3 separate regions of the Homo sapiens genome follow, and regions 2 and 3 are each linked to region 1. Evidence: promoter capture Hi-C in human tissues and cell types (Jung and others, 2019). All regions are on one chromosome and are shown on one strand. Each heading gives the region's core, a stretch centred on a gene start or on the middle of the fragment in contact. The rest is flanking DNA. Distances are from core to core; before and after follow the strand shown.

Region 1 (4,158 bases), core at 672-3,171:
CCACCAGCCTCTCCCCGGCCTCCTTCAGTGATGCCTCAAAGTCCTCCTTGCTCAGGATCACTTTCACCTTGTCCCCCTCCGGGAACTCCATTGTTTCTTCTTCAGGCTTTAGGATGTCACCCTCCTTGGATGGGGTGGCTTCTTCTAGGGACTTGGGGCTGTCATCCTCCTTGGGCTGGATGGTTTCTTCTGGGGACTTGGGGATGTCAATCTCCTTGGGTGGGATGGCTTCCTCTAGGGACTTGGGAATGTCACCCTCCTTGGGCTGGATGGCTTGTTTTGGAGACTTGGGAATGTCACCCTCCTTGGGCTGGATGGCTTCTTCTGGGGACTTGGGGATGTCACCCTTCTTGGGCTGGATGGTTTCTTCTGGGGACTTGGGGATGTCACCCTCCTTAGGCTGGATGGCTTCCTCTAGGGACTTGGGGATGTCACCCTCCTTGGGCTGGATGGCTTCTTCTGGGGACTTGGGGATGTCACCCTCCTTGGGCTGGATGGCTTCCTCTAGGGACTTGGGGAGGTCACCCTCCTTGGGCTGGATGGCTTCTTCTGGGGACTTGGAGATGTCACCCTCCTTGGGCTGGCTGGGCTTCACTGAGGCCTTGGGAATATTGCCCAGCTTGGGCTGGATGGGCTTTGCTGAGGACTTGGGGATGTCACCCTCCTTGGGCTGGATGGTTTCTTCTGGGGACTTGGGGATATCACTCTCCTTGGGCTGGCTGGGCTTCACTGAGGTCTTGGCAATATTGCCCAGCTTGGGCTGGATGGGTTTTGCTGAGGACTTGGGGATGTCACCCTCTTTGGGCTGGATGGCTTCTTCTGAGGACTTGGGGAGGTCCTCCTTCTTGGATTGGATGGTTTCTTCTGGGGCCTTGGGGATGTCACCCTCCTTGGGCTGGCTGGGCTTCACTGAGGCCTTGGGAATATTGCCCAGCTTGGGCTGGATGGGTTTTGCTGAGGACTTGGGGATGTTACTCTCTTTGGGCTGGATGGCTTTTTCTGAGGACTTGGGGAGGTCCTCCTTCTTGGATTGGATGGTTTCTTCTGGGGCCTTGGGGATGTCACCCTCCTTGGGCTGGATGGTTTCTTCTGAGGACTTGGGGCTGTCATCCTGCTTGGGATGGCTGGTGTTTGCTGAGGACTTGGGTAGGTCATCGCCCTCCTGTGAGGCATCAGACTCCTCTGTGCGCATGTGGAACGTGTGGCTGACCATGGGGAGAAAGGCCTTCTCTTTGGCCTGGGCTATTTCCAAGAACTCTAGGGCCAGGAGAGGCACGTTGCTGGACAGGACTAGTAATGAGCTTTCTGTACCAAAAAACATAAAATAAAATAAAATAAAATAAATCAAATAGAAATGCAAAAGAAGAACCAAAGAAATTCTCTTCATATTCCAAGGAAGACTGATGTCACTCTTCGAGATCACGAATGAAGTCTGATGAATGATGTATTAATCTGAAAAACTCATTCAGCAGAAGGACAAACAGCGTGTGGTTACACGTATCTTCTGTATACATGTTCTTAAGCTACAACTTTCCCTTCTTGGTTCAACACCCTGCCCGCTCCCTAACTGCATAGGTCTTTAAGGCAACCCTCTTTCCTCCCCTACTTACCATTAGCATCACCTTCACTTGTTTCTTCCTGAGTGCCCAGCCTCATTTCTGGTTTTCCAGAGGCTCCAGCTTTAACACTTTCCATTCCTAGTTCCTTGTCTACATCCATTCCTGATCCTTCATAGATGCCTCATAGTAAAGGCCGTACCCTCCAACTTTTTCCAAGCTATCCATCCTAACATCAAAATATGAGTAAAACTTACATTTGGGTGGCACGTTACAGTTGGTTTTCCCTCTCTGTATTCACAACAGTGATATTTGAGAGCTTCAAGGTGGCTCCCCTGTGCTGAGGCTGGGACTACGCATTCACTGGCATCATTTCCTAGAACACAACAAACCACTGAGGTCAGAACCATTATGATGAGTAGTTTACACATGAGAAGCTATGTAGCTCACTTAAGGTCACAAAGCTAGGGTGGGGGCAGGCTCCAAAGCTCATGCTCTGCACTGTGAGGCTGTGCTGGACTGCTCGCCACAAGTCCCGTCCAGCCTGGGTTCTGTGAATCAACCATCTTATCATCTTTCTCCAGGATCCCCCAGCTCCAACATTCTCTTTACGACTCACCCATTGTGACCAGCTCCTAAGTATCTCCTCGAAACCATGTTAGCCTCCTCTGCAAAGTGTCCCACAATGTCAAATGTTCAGCTCCTGCTAGACAGCCTCTTTCCCCACCTCCCCCACCTCCCAGGCGCACCAGCCCAGCCTGTGCCCTCCCCCATGCAGACACATCCAAGTACACGGCTCTTCCAGCCTTTACATACAGGAGAACAACCTCTTTGTGAATAATCCTGGTTCCATAAGCCACATCTACCCCATCCTGTGGAATGGGAAGCCAAATACCTGTCCCCCAGGGAGACTTATTTTATTAGTTCAGGACCACTGGCTCATTTTCCACCCTCACTCTGCACAACACATCCAGTCCAAGGCAGGAAGAATCAGTGTGGAATTTTGCCTTCTCTACATGTACTTTGAACAAATCCTCATATGTTTCAGTTTCACCCCAACAATATAAGTGTTGAAAGTGGTCAGGCATGGTGGCTCACACCGTGATCTCAGTACTTTGGGAGGCCAAGGTGGGAGGATTTCTTGAGCCCAGGAGTTTGAGATCAGCCTAGGCAACATAGCAAGACCCCATCTCTACAAAAAATACAAAACCTAGCCAGGCACAGTGGCACACGCCTGTCCCAGCTACTTGGGAAGCTGAGGTGGGAGGCTTGCTTGAGCCAGTGAGTTCAAGACTGCAGTGAGCCGTGATCACTACATCGTACTCTAGCCTGGGCAACAGAGCAAGGCCCCGTCTCTAAAAACTAAAAATAAAAGTGTTGAAATCTAAATGATAAGACCTCCACATTGTCAATAGAAACCTCGAAACATCTAATGGCAATGGTTCAATTATCTGGATTTTTATACCAAAACACATTTTACTAAGGGGTAGAGAGACTATTGGCCTTAGCAAATCCATAGTTCCTTTTTTTTTTTTCTTTGAGACAGTCTTGCCCTGTCACCGAGGCTGGAGTGCAGTGGCACAATCTCGACTCACTGCAACCTCTATCTCCCAGGTTCAAGCAATTCTCTTGCCTCACCCTCTCGAGTAGCTGGGATTACAGGCATTCACCACCACACCCGGCTAATTTTTGTATTTTTTTTAGTCGAGACAGGGTTTCACCATGTTAGCAAGGCTGGTCTCTAACTCCTGACCTCAAACGATCCACCTGCCTCAGCCTCCCAAATTGCTGGGATTACAGGCGTGAGCCACCATGCCTGGCCCAGCAAATCCGTAGTTCTTGATGATATGAATCCTGTTCCAGGAAGAGCTCATGCTTCCACTCCGTTTCCTCGGTTACTGCCAAAGAAAGCTCTTCCCTCTCTCACTGGGAGACTTTGGGCCTTTCTTATGTGATATTTTAAAGGACGGGAGGTTGTCTTCACTCTCCAATGCCAACGGCTTCCACAGCTGACAGGACTGTTTTTCATGGTGCCCTATTTTAAAGCAGAGGATGAAAATAAACGTCAGGCACTTATCTGGGCAATGTCTTCTTTCTTAGTGTTAGGAGAAAGGAGGTGAAGCGGGGAGGATAGGCATCATTTGCAGAAACCATCATGAGCAGATTTTATTAGCACAAAGTGGGCAGCATCTTTGGCCCTTGCTCATTGGTAAGTTAATTTACTTCCTGGGACCCTATCTTGTACAGGGTCCCTGCTGTTTGGAAGGGAGTGGATGAGGACACAGAGGAACTCCATCGCTGAGAGGCAGAAGTGAAAACATCACTCCTGCCATCCCAGTAGATGTGGAGGCAAGAGGACAGATGCCTGTGTCCCGGCCTCCTTTCTCCAGGTTGATTGCCAGCACAGATACTAATCAGATGTGCTACTCTACTAAAAATGCGATTTTAGATCTCTACTAAAAATACGAAAGTTAGCCGGATGTGGTGACAAATGTCTGTAATCCCAGCTACTCAGGAGGCTGAGGCAGGAGAATCGCTTGAACCTGGGAAGCAGAGGTTGCAGTGAGCGGAGATGGTGCCACTGCACTCTAGCCTGAGCAAC
Region 2 (4,431 bases), core at 1,362-3,861, 130 kb after region 1:
CACACTGCTTGATCTCAAAGATTATCAATTCTGTCTAATCTTCTACTGCCCTACTTCCTGTCCCACCCAACAGAGCACGCTGGTTGAATTCTGCAGACGTCGTCAGTTACACTGTCTTGCGGTCCCAGCCACTGTGCTGCACTTTCAGAGCAAAGGCCTCGGCAGCGGTGGTCATTTTTGTAGTCACCCTTGCTTTTGTCCTCATGGGGAGATAGACAGGGGGATGGATGAAAGGTCATGCCACACTCGCACACAGCTGAGACTCAGAATCAGATGCACCAGACCATGTCTCACTTGTGTGACATTGGGAAGGGAAGCACATGGCTATTGCTGTAAGTCCCATGTGTCTACCCTCACAGGCTCCTGGTTCAGTGAGGAACACAGACAAGTAAACTGGGAAGTAGCATCGACTGTGACAAGTGCTGTGATGGGGATGCACAGGGACACCTGCCCGCATCTGACAATCAGGAAAGGCTTCATGGAGGCAGGGGCACTAAATCTGAAACCAAAAGGATGCACTAGCCCAGCAAAGAGACAGGCAGGACTGGTGAATGGAGAAGGGAAGAGGGGGGAGGAGAACACAAGCAGAGGCCACAGAGAAGGAAGGCTGTCCGAGTGAGTCAGCGTGGTCAGACATTTGGGGCTTTTCCCCCCAGGAGGCAAAGAAGCCAGCACCTCCCCATGAACATGTGGATGGAGGGGCCTGGGTTATGCTTTCCACTCCCCCATCCTGCTGATCCCACTCTGACTGGAATGAGCTGGTTCCGTGGTGAGCAGGTCATTTTGCAAACCGACTGCCAAAAGCCAAGGGAACTGAGAGGTCGAAGAAAGAGGCAACAAATCCAGTTTCTCAGAGAGCAACATTTAATGGGACGTATGAACAGGAGCCGCGTCTCGGGTGGCCCACAGGCGAAATGGGGGATCCCTGTGCTACCATCCCCAGGCCCAGGGCTTACGCACCACAGGGGGACAGTGTCCGTGCTTCAGAAGGGATGTGCGGAACAACTGCTTTACAGCAAGATTTACGGTAAGTACGATAACATCAAGGTTGTTTTGACCTAAGGACAAGATTTATGGTAAGTACATGCTCTTACACAAGGAAGAAGATGAAATAGAAATCTTAGAGGCATTGCCAGAACTGGAGTTAATCAGAAGCCGACATGATGGATTAGCATCCAGGATGGAGTCATCTTAGCCCTCCACAGGTGGCCTCAAAGAGGGCCTCTCGCCCTCTGCCCTAACCCAGTGGCTCTATCTCCCTACTTCTGACATTCCTGCACATTCCCCAAAGGGGATCTGAAGCACACACATGAACACACACATACATGCACATGCATACATGTGCACACACATGTCCACACAGCCCACAGAGACACTGTTACACAGACCCAGCATGCGGTGTCCTGGATCATCCTAGGTTCAACGTGGCTAAAGCTAGGAACACCACTCACTTCCCAGAAGCCCCTTCTCCATAGAGTTCTGGACTAGAGTTGACCAAAAAAGGAATCTGCAGGAAGTAAAGACTGGGCATTACTCTCTGAAGGTCTTTAGCACACAGAGATGACAAGGTTCCCAGCAGAGCCCCACTTGTCCCCACTCCTCTCTTCTGTGTCTGACTCTTCTCCCAACAGCGGTCCTCCCAATGTAGGGTGTAGAGGCAGGAGCTACGCAGAGCAGTGGCTGCCCGCAGGCACCTGCTCCATGTCCCCACTGCAGGCCGGCTTCCCTGCTGGGCACCTCTGGCTTCTCAGAGCTTCCTTGAGAGCCACAACCATCCACCATGCCGGGTGCTGCTGTTTTGAGATGTTTCTCTGATCTTCGGGCTCTGACTCCCAGGCATCCCCTTCCCCAGCCACCCACACTGGTATTAAGTGGGATTACTGTAATAAATTCCTTTTCCCATAACACTCAGAGTAGCTCTGCTTCCTGACTGAACGCCAACTCATACTGACATGCCCACCAAGGAGAAATAACCCAGAAACAAGAGAGGAATGAATGTACTGCAGGCTAAGACGTAAACTCTGGTAGGAGCATGTCAGCTAAACCCATAGTGCAGAAAGGCACCAATCAATCAGAACAGACTCCTAAACTTATACAACTGGAGCCAAGGGCACCATCAGTTACTTCGTTAGGGAGTTTGAACTTTGTTCTGAGGGCAATGGGAGCCAATGAGACCACACAGTGGTGGAATTTTAAGAGGACTGGAGGAAAGCAAAACTGGAAACAAAGGCCATTTAGGAGCTGTTCATTCATTTGCTGCATTTTTATTGAGCACCTACTACGTGCCAAGCATTATCATAGATGACAGTGGCCTGATTTAAAGTACCAGAGTCTATCGTATCAACACTAAGACTCCACAATGACAGCTTGGCTTACATTCCATGCTCACTTCTATAGAGCAGACAAAAGAAACAGTTCATAAATCCCAACCATAATAAATTTGAAAAGTCAGCATCCTCAGACCACTCACAAATATGAATTAATGCTCAAGGCTTTGCCGACTGCCAAGCCAAGGTCCTGTGCAATACAGTTAACTGCTGTAATCTCTTAATCAGGGCACTAGATTACAACAGATGTGATTTAATCAAATGAGATATATGCACACTTGCAAACTGTACAGAGAAGAGCAAGCAGTCAATACACTTCCACATTATTTATAAGCTGGGGATATTACAGTCTGCCCACAACTTACCTGCTTTCCTGACTCTACACTGTTCTAGTTAAATAATAATGGTTTTTGACTCATGATGTATTAGGAATTGTCTTATACTCATGAAGGTTAACTATATCAGGGTCTATACTTGATCGCACTGCATGAGGAAAGGAATGTGGAAGCAAGGGAGGGAGTACAGAGTTTGAGAAAACCCTAACTCCCTATCTACTGCATCCCCACAACTACCATGCTCACATGACCTTCTCATGGTTTAAAGCTTCTCCAATCATCCAGCACTTCTGCAAGTATTTAACAGACATTACAAAATATAAATAAAAGTCATCAATGAATTTCCAACTCAAGGGAAATTACTAAGCCCTCATCTTCAATCTATGCTCTTTGGAGAAAAATGCTAAAATATTACTCTTAGTTTAAGAAATTTTACCAGGAAACACAAGGCAGCCTAAACCACAGCTGCCAGAAGAATCCACGCCACATTGCAGCCTCTGAGCAGAGGGCAGCAAAAGCCCCCACTTCCTCTTCCATTGTCCAGGCCTCCTGAGGTCAGAGATGAGGCACGCTAGCATCTTTCATTCATTCAAAGGAGAGAGGGGGTGTGACGGCTGGGACTGACAATGAAAACAGAGACAGCCTCACATGTGGACAAACCTCCTGGTAACAACCTAAATCCATGTACTGCTGCCATGAGGCCATGGAAATTCAGTCTCTGGTTCCTGGACAGTGTCCTCAACTGTTCCCCAGCCCAAGAAGAGCTGAAGCTCAAAGAGGAGGGCAAGTGACTGCAGATCAGCTCCTTACTGCTATGCTGGATATCACAGCAATGAGCTAAAATTGACAGCGTGACATTAGTCCTCAAGTACAGCCTTAGCTTACCAAAAATGCCTCCAACTCCTCCAGCACAGAAAACTAATCTGAAACCTTGCTAGAGAGTACGAAGCTCCTGCTCACAGAGGGTAAGGCCAAGGGCACTGATGGGAACCTGGACTACAAAGCAGGCACATGTGGCCAGTTGGGTTGAAAATGCAGTAAAAAATGGTGACTAAGGGAAAAGTCAAGAGAAGGCAGTCACAGACATCAAGACAAAACGGAGCTAATGAGATTCCAAGTTCCACATCATGAATATCTATGAATTATTAAGACCACTAATCATGTTATTAGTAATGATGGTGATGATAGTTAACATTCTGTTAAGCTTTCCTGTATGCTAGACTCTTTTCATTTGCATCACCTCATTTAATCTTCAATCTAATTCTATGACAGACTTACTAGTGTGACGCCTTACAGTTGGGAAAACAGGCTGGGAAAACAGTTGGGAAAACCTGGTCTGTGCCTCAGAAACCCAAGCTGTAGACCTCCATACTGTACCTACTCCTGCCTCTTCACAAACACCATCTGGGCTTGCAATCCTGTGACAAGTGCCAGAGAGACAAGCAGGTATGGTAATGCCTTTATTCTTCCACTCACTAAACACATATTCCATGTCTAGGCCACACCAGGCACTGTGTTAGACATTGGAGATTCAACAGTACATACAGTTGTCCCTCGGTATCCTGGGGGCATTGGTTCCAGGACCTCTTGCAGATACCAAAATCTGAGAATGTTCAAGTCCTGATATAAAATGTTATAGTATTTGCATATAACCCATGCACATCCTCCTGTACACTTTAAATCATCTCTAGATTACTTATAATACCTATACAACATAAATGCTATGTAAATAGTTGTTATGCCATATTGTTTAAGGAATAATTACAAGA
Region 3 (4,224 bases), core at 897-3,396, 220 kb after region 1:
AAATGTTTTTTATTAATCAGTTTGTTCAAATCAGGACTCAAACTGGGTCCAGACAATGTAGCTGATGAATGGTCTCAAGACTCCTGTAGTCTTTAACAATTTTCCTCTCCTCTCCTTTTTATACCTGCCATTTGTTGAAGACATCTGGACAATTTTTCTGTAGAATTTCTCCCAATCTGGATTTGGTTGATTATATTCTTGTAGGTTGTTTAATATGCTCTTCGTATTTCCTGGAAATGGATAGTTGGATTTGGAGGTTTGTTGGTACTCTATTCAGGTTCATTTTGGTTGGGGACAAAAATACTTCAAAGATGGTGCTTGTAGTTCCTATTGCATCTCATGAGGAAGTGCCTTCTTGTCTGTCTGACAATTAGTGGTTCATTGTCGTTAGCCTGACCTGTTCCCCACTGCCTGTTCACCTACCGGCTTTAGAAGACAGGCTTCATCATTGCCTCTATCTACTATTTCATTAGCAGAGGTAACATGGTAATTTTCAAATTCTATCTGCCTCACATCCCCTGCAATGATTAACTTTGATTCTTCTATAAAGAAGAACTTCTTTGGCCAGGTGTGGTGTCTCACGCCTGTAATCCCAGTACTTTGGGAGGCTGAGGCTGGAGGATTGCTTTATCCCAGGGTTTAAGACTAACCTGAGCAACATATTGAGACCCCGTCTCTGTTATTAAAAACCATAAATAATTTTATTTTAAAAAGAAGCACTTCTCCCATCAACTGTTCACTCTGAAATACAGTTCATTAGGGAGGCAGGATAAATGCTTGGTGCTGTCCCTTTACACATCATTTCTGTCCCTTTATGTATCCAGAGCAGTTAAGAATATTTTAGTTGCAGATAACAGAACCCAATTTGGGACAGCTTAAGAAAGTATATAATTTATTGGGAAGCTCTGGATAAGTACAGAATCATAGGAAGAGAGAAGCAGAAAGTGGAGACATGAGGGCAGCTCTGAGCACCCCAGCAGCAGGCTTTGTGGGCTTCTCCATAGAGAGTCGCCCTCTGTGAGACTCAGCAACATTGACTTCCAGAAGCAGGGTGCACACTTAACCACTGCAATTAGAGAGGACAGTCCCCACAAGAGACTGTCCTTACTCTGACACCAGTTGAAAGTTTGGGGGGGTGTTCCCAAAACCACCCTCAGTTTTGATAATTCACTAGCTGGAAGGACTCACAGTGCTCACCAAAAGCTGTTATACTCATGGTATGATTTCTTACAGAGAAAGGAAATGGATTAAGATCTGCCAAGGGCAGAGACTCGTGGGGCAGAGTCCAGAAAGGGGTCCGCCTGTGGAGCTTCTGACCATCCTCTCTGTGTTGTTATGAGCACAGTGAGCTCCTTCCAGCCATGATGGAATAATGCACATGGAGTGTGGCTAACCAGGAAAGCTCGCCAGAGCCTGGGTGCCTACTGTTTCCATTGGTGCTCCATAGCATAGCATACTGACCACATGGCTGGCCTGTAGTCTCTACCCCCTCCTGGAGATCAGTCTGGTAACTTTAGTCTCCAGTCCCTTCTGGAGACAGAATCCATCCTATGTAGCCCACATCCCCCATCATAAATCACATTGGTAGACTGTCTGGTGGTGAAAACCTCCGGCCAGACAAAGGCAGGACATTCCAGTGGCCTAGAAACCACCTCCCAGTAGCTGAGGGCAAAGGCCAGTCTTCTCTTTGAGTAAGGTTCATTCTTCACTGCACACTGGGTCTCTTCATTCCAAGTTTAAAATTACAAAAGAAACGGAGACTACTTGGTCCAGTTTATACAAAATCATTCAGACATGGACCCTGGAGAAAGACCTTGAGAAAGAGCCTTCTATATTTTACATACACACCCCTTTCTCCAGCTGTTTAGAAACGCCCCTAACACAACTGACCTAAACTCCTATGCACCCCTCACTCTCTCAAAAAACATAACCCCAAGTTAGACTCAGCAGCTGCCTGTGAAAGTCACGTCGCGAAGCCATAGTCCCCAAAGCCAGATCACAGGCCTGGCCCATGCTCCTCCAGCTCTGCTGAGATCCTGTTTCAGTGTTCTGCACCTTAGAGACATTAGTACATCAGCCAACAAGGTCACATCCAATATCAAGGAGAAGAAAGGAAAAAAGACAAACTATAATCACGTCTTTAAGAAAAGGGAGCAATTAGCTCCCACTGGCAATAAGATAGTGATGGAAGCATTCCATTTATTTTTCCACAGCATTATTCACAGTAGCAAAAGGTGGAGACGACTCAGGTGTCCTTTGATGGATGCATGGATAAACTCAATGTGGTGGATTCGTATACAGAGGAATATTATTCAGCCTTCAAAAGAAGGGAATTCAGACACATGCTACAATGTGGATGGACATTGAAGACATTACGCTAAGTGAAAGAAGCCAGACATCAAAAGGACAAATATTTTGTGATTCCACTTATACGAGGTATATGAGTAATCAAATTCACGGAGACAGAGAGTAGGAAGGTGGTTGTCAGGGGCTAGGGGCAGTGGGGATGGCAGTTATTGTTTAATGGGTACAGAGTTTCAATTTAGAAACATGGAAAGTTCTGGAGGTGGATGGTGATGATGGTTGCACAACAGTGTCAATGTACATAATGCCATTCAACTGTGCACTTAGAAATGGCTAAAAAGGTAAATTTTATATTATGTAGTTTATGTATTATGTATTTTAGAACAATTTTTTAAAAGGCTTTTAAAAACGTCCTCTATTGCAAATTGTCTGTTCTTGTTCCATGTGAATGAATTCTGAATAAAATATGAACTATTTTTCTTTCATATTTACTTAGAATATATCTCTGAATTTGTAATTTATTTCCTTTGTTGTTTGGAAAATGCGGTTTTTTTGGACTTAAACATTTATCATAATTATGTAATTGTTTAAAATGTTCCTGTGGGATTTCTCCCACAACGTTTAAGCTTCTGAAGTGGCCTACCCCTCTCCGTGTTTTAATTTTTTTAAGCCTTTTACATGGTTTTAAATTTTTAAATGTTTACTTTTTGTAGCAACAGGATCTCACTACATTACCCAGGCTGGTCTCAAACTCCTGGACCTCAGACTCCCAAAGTGCTGGGATTACAGGCATGAGCCACTGCACCCGGCCTCGATTTACTTTTTTAACATTGAATTCCTTAATGCATCTATTGTCATAGCATGATTAATTGAATAATTTTTCTATCTCATTAAGTTGAGATTGATGTGATTTTAATCACATATTAAAATGTAAATATATTCGGTCCAGTTTTTTGGCTTTTTTTGTGTCATTGATCAGTTTCATTTTTCACTGCTACAATGCTATTTAATTATTCTAGTTTTATGTGGCTGTCTTTTGCAAAAATGGCTGCAATAATATTTCCCATCCCACGTGAACCTTCTAGAACCTTCACATTCCTCCAGAAAGATGGAGAGGCTGTGTTCCCTCCCCTTCAAACTGGACAGGCCCTTTTGAATGCCTCAGGAGTACTTTGCAGTGGAGGTGACTCATGCGACTTTTGAGACTAGCCTAGAGAAGGTCACAAAGCTTGTTCTAGGCTCCCTTGAGACACGGGCGTTTGAGCACGAGCCACATGTAAGAAGCGCAGCAGCCCTGAAACTGCCATGTTGGAACCACACAGAGGCAGGGGCAGCCCGGGACCCAGCAGGTCCACCCTCAGCCCTTTGAGTCTTCCCAGCGGACACAGCTGCCCAGCCTGGGAGGGAGCAAGTCTTTAGCCATACTAGCCCAGCTCCCACCTTACTGCAGCCACATGCAGAACCTCAAGGAAGAGCCACCCAGCCCAGCCCGGCCACCCTCCAGATTCATAAGACATGGGACGTAAAATCACTATTGTTTCTTGCGATACTGCGTTTGGAGTGATATATTATGCAGCAATAATCACCAGAACCCTTTATAACATGTTTTAGAGTAGTCCTGCTTCTTTGTTTTTTTTCAGAATTGACATTACTATTTGCATCTATTTATTCTTCTTGTGAATTTCAGATTTATGTGGTCACATTCCTGCTTCCTTCCGATTTCCTTCTTGGAATCTATTAACAGATGTGACCGTGTCTATATAGAATTGTATTATCTTTTAAATAGCATATTTAAAACTCTTTTCTATATAGCTATATAACTTCATAATTATATTTACTTAAATTTTGTCTCTATTATTGGACATTTAAGTTGTAGCATTTTTTTCACAATTATAAATAGTACCATGCCATTTTACAATA

What was found. The method cuts DNA at HindIII sites, captures the fragments that hold promoters and counts their contacts. A contact is called where the count stands out against the background at its distance.
Region 2: a fragment that was not itself captured here is called in contact with the fragment with the promoter of TXNDC2 in region 1 in 2 of the 25 tissues and cell types used here (adrenal gland and mesenchymal stem cells).
Region 3: a contact is called between a fragment that was not itself captured here and the fragment with the promoter of TXNDC2 in region 1, in 3 of the 25 tissues and cell types used here (heart left ventricle, lymphoblastoid cells and mesenchymal stem cells).

What each region holds. Positions count from the first base shown.
Region 1 is chr18:9,883,736-9,887,893 of GRCh38, reverse strand. It overlaps TXNDC2 (thioredoxin domain containing 2), which reads right to left and starts at 1,921. Exons shown (of 2, transcript NM_032243.6): 1 at 1,814-1,921; 2 at 1-1,305. The coding sequence starts at 1,213. The HindIII fragment of the contact is 24,551 bases long and covers 1-4,158 here.
Region 2 is chr18:9,754,590-9,759,020 of GRCh38, reverse strand. All of the region lies in intron 1 of RAB31 (RAB31, member RAS oncogene family), which reads right to left. Among named protein-coding and RNA genes, the nearest start is that of RAB31, 49 kb to the right of the region's middle. The HindIII fragment of the contact is 7,328 bases long and covers 1-4,431 here.
Region 3 is chr18:9,662,893-9,667,116 of GRCh38, reverse strand. No RefSeq gene overlaps it. Among named protein-coding and RNA genes, the nearest start is that of LINC02856, 19 kb to the right of the region's middle. The HindIII fragment of the contact is 4,849 bases long and covers 1-4,224 here.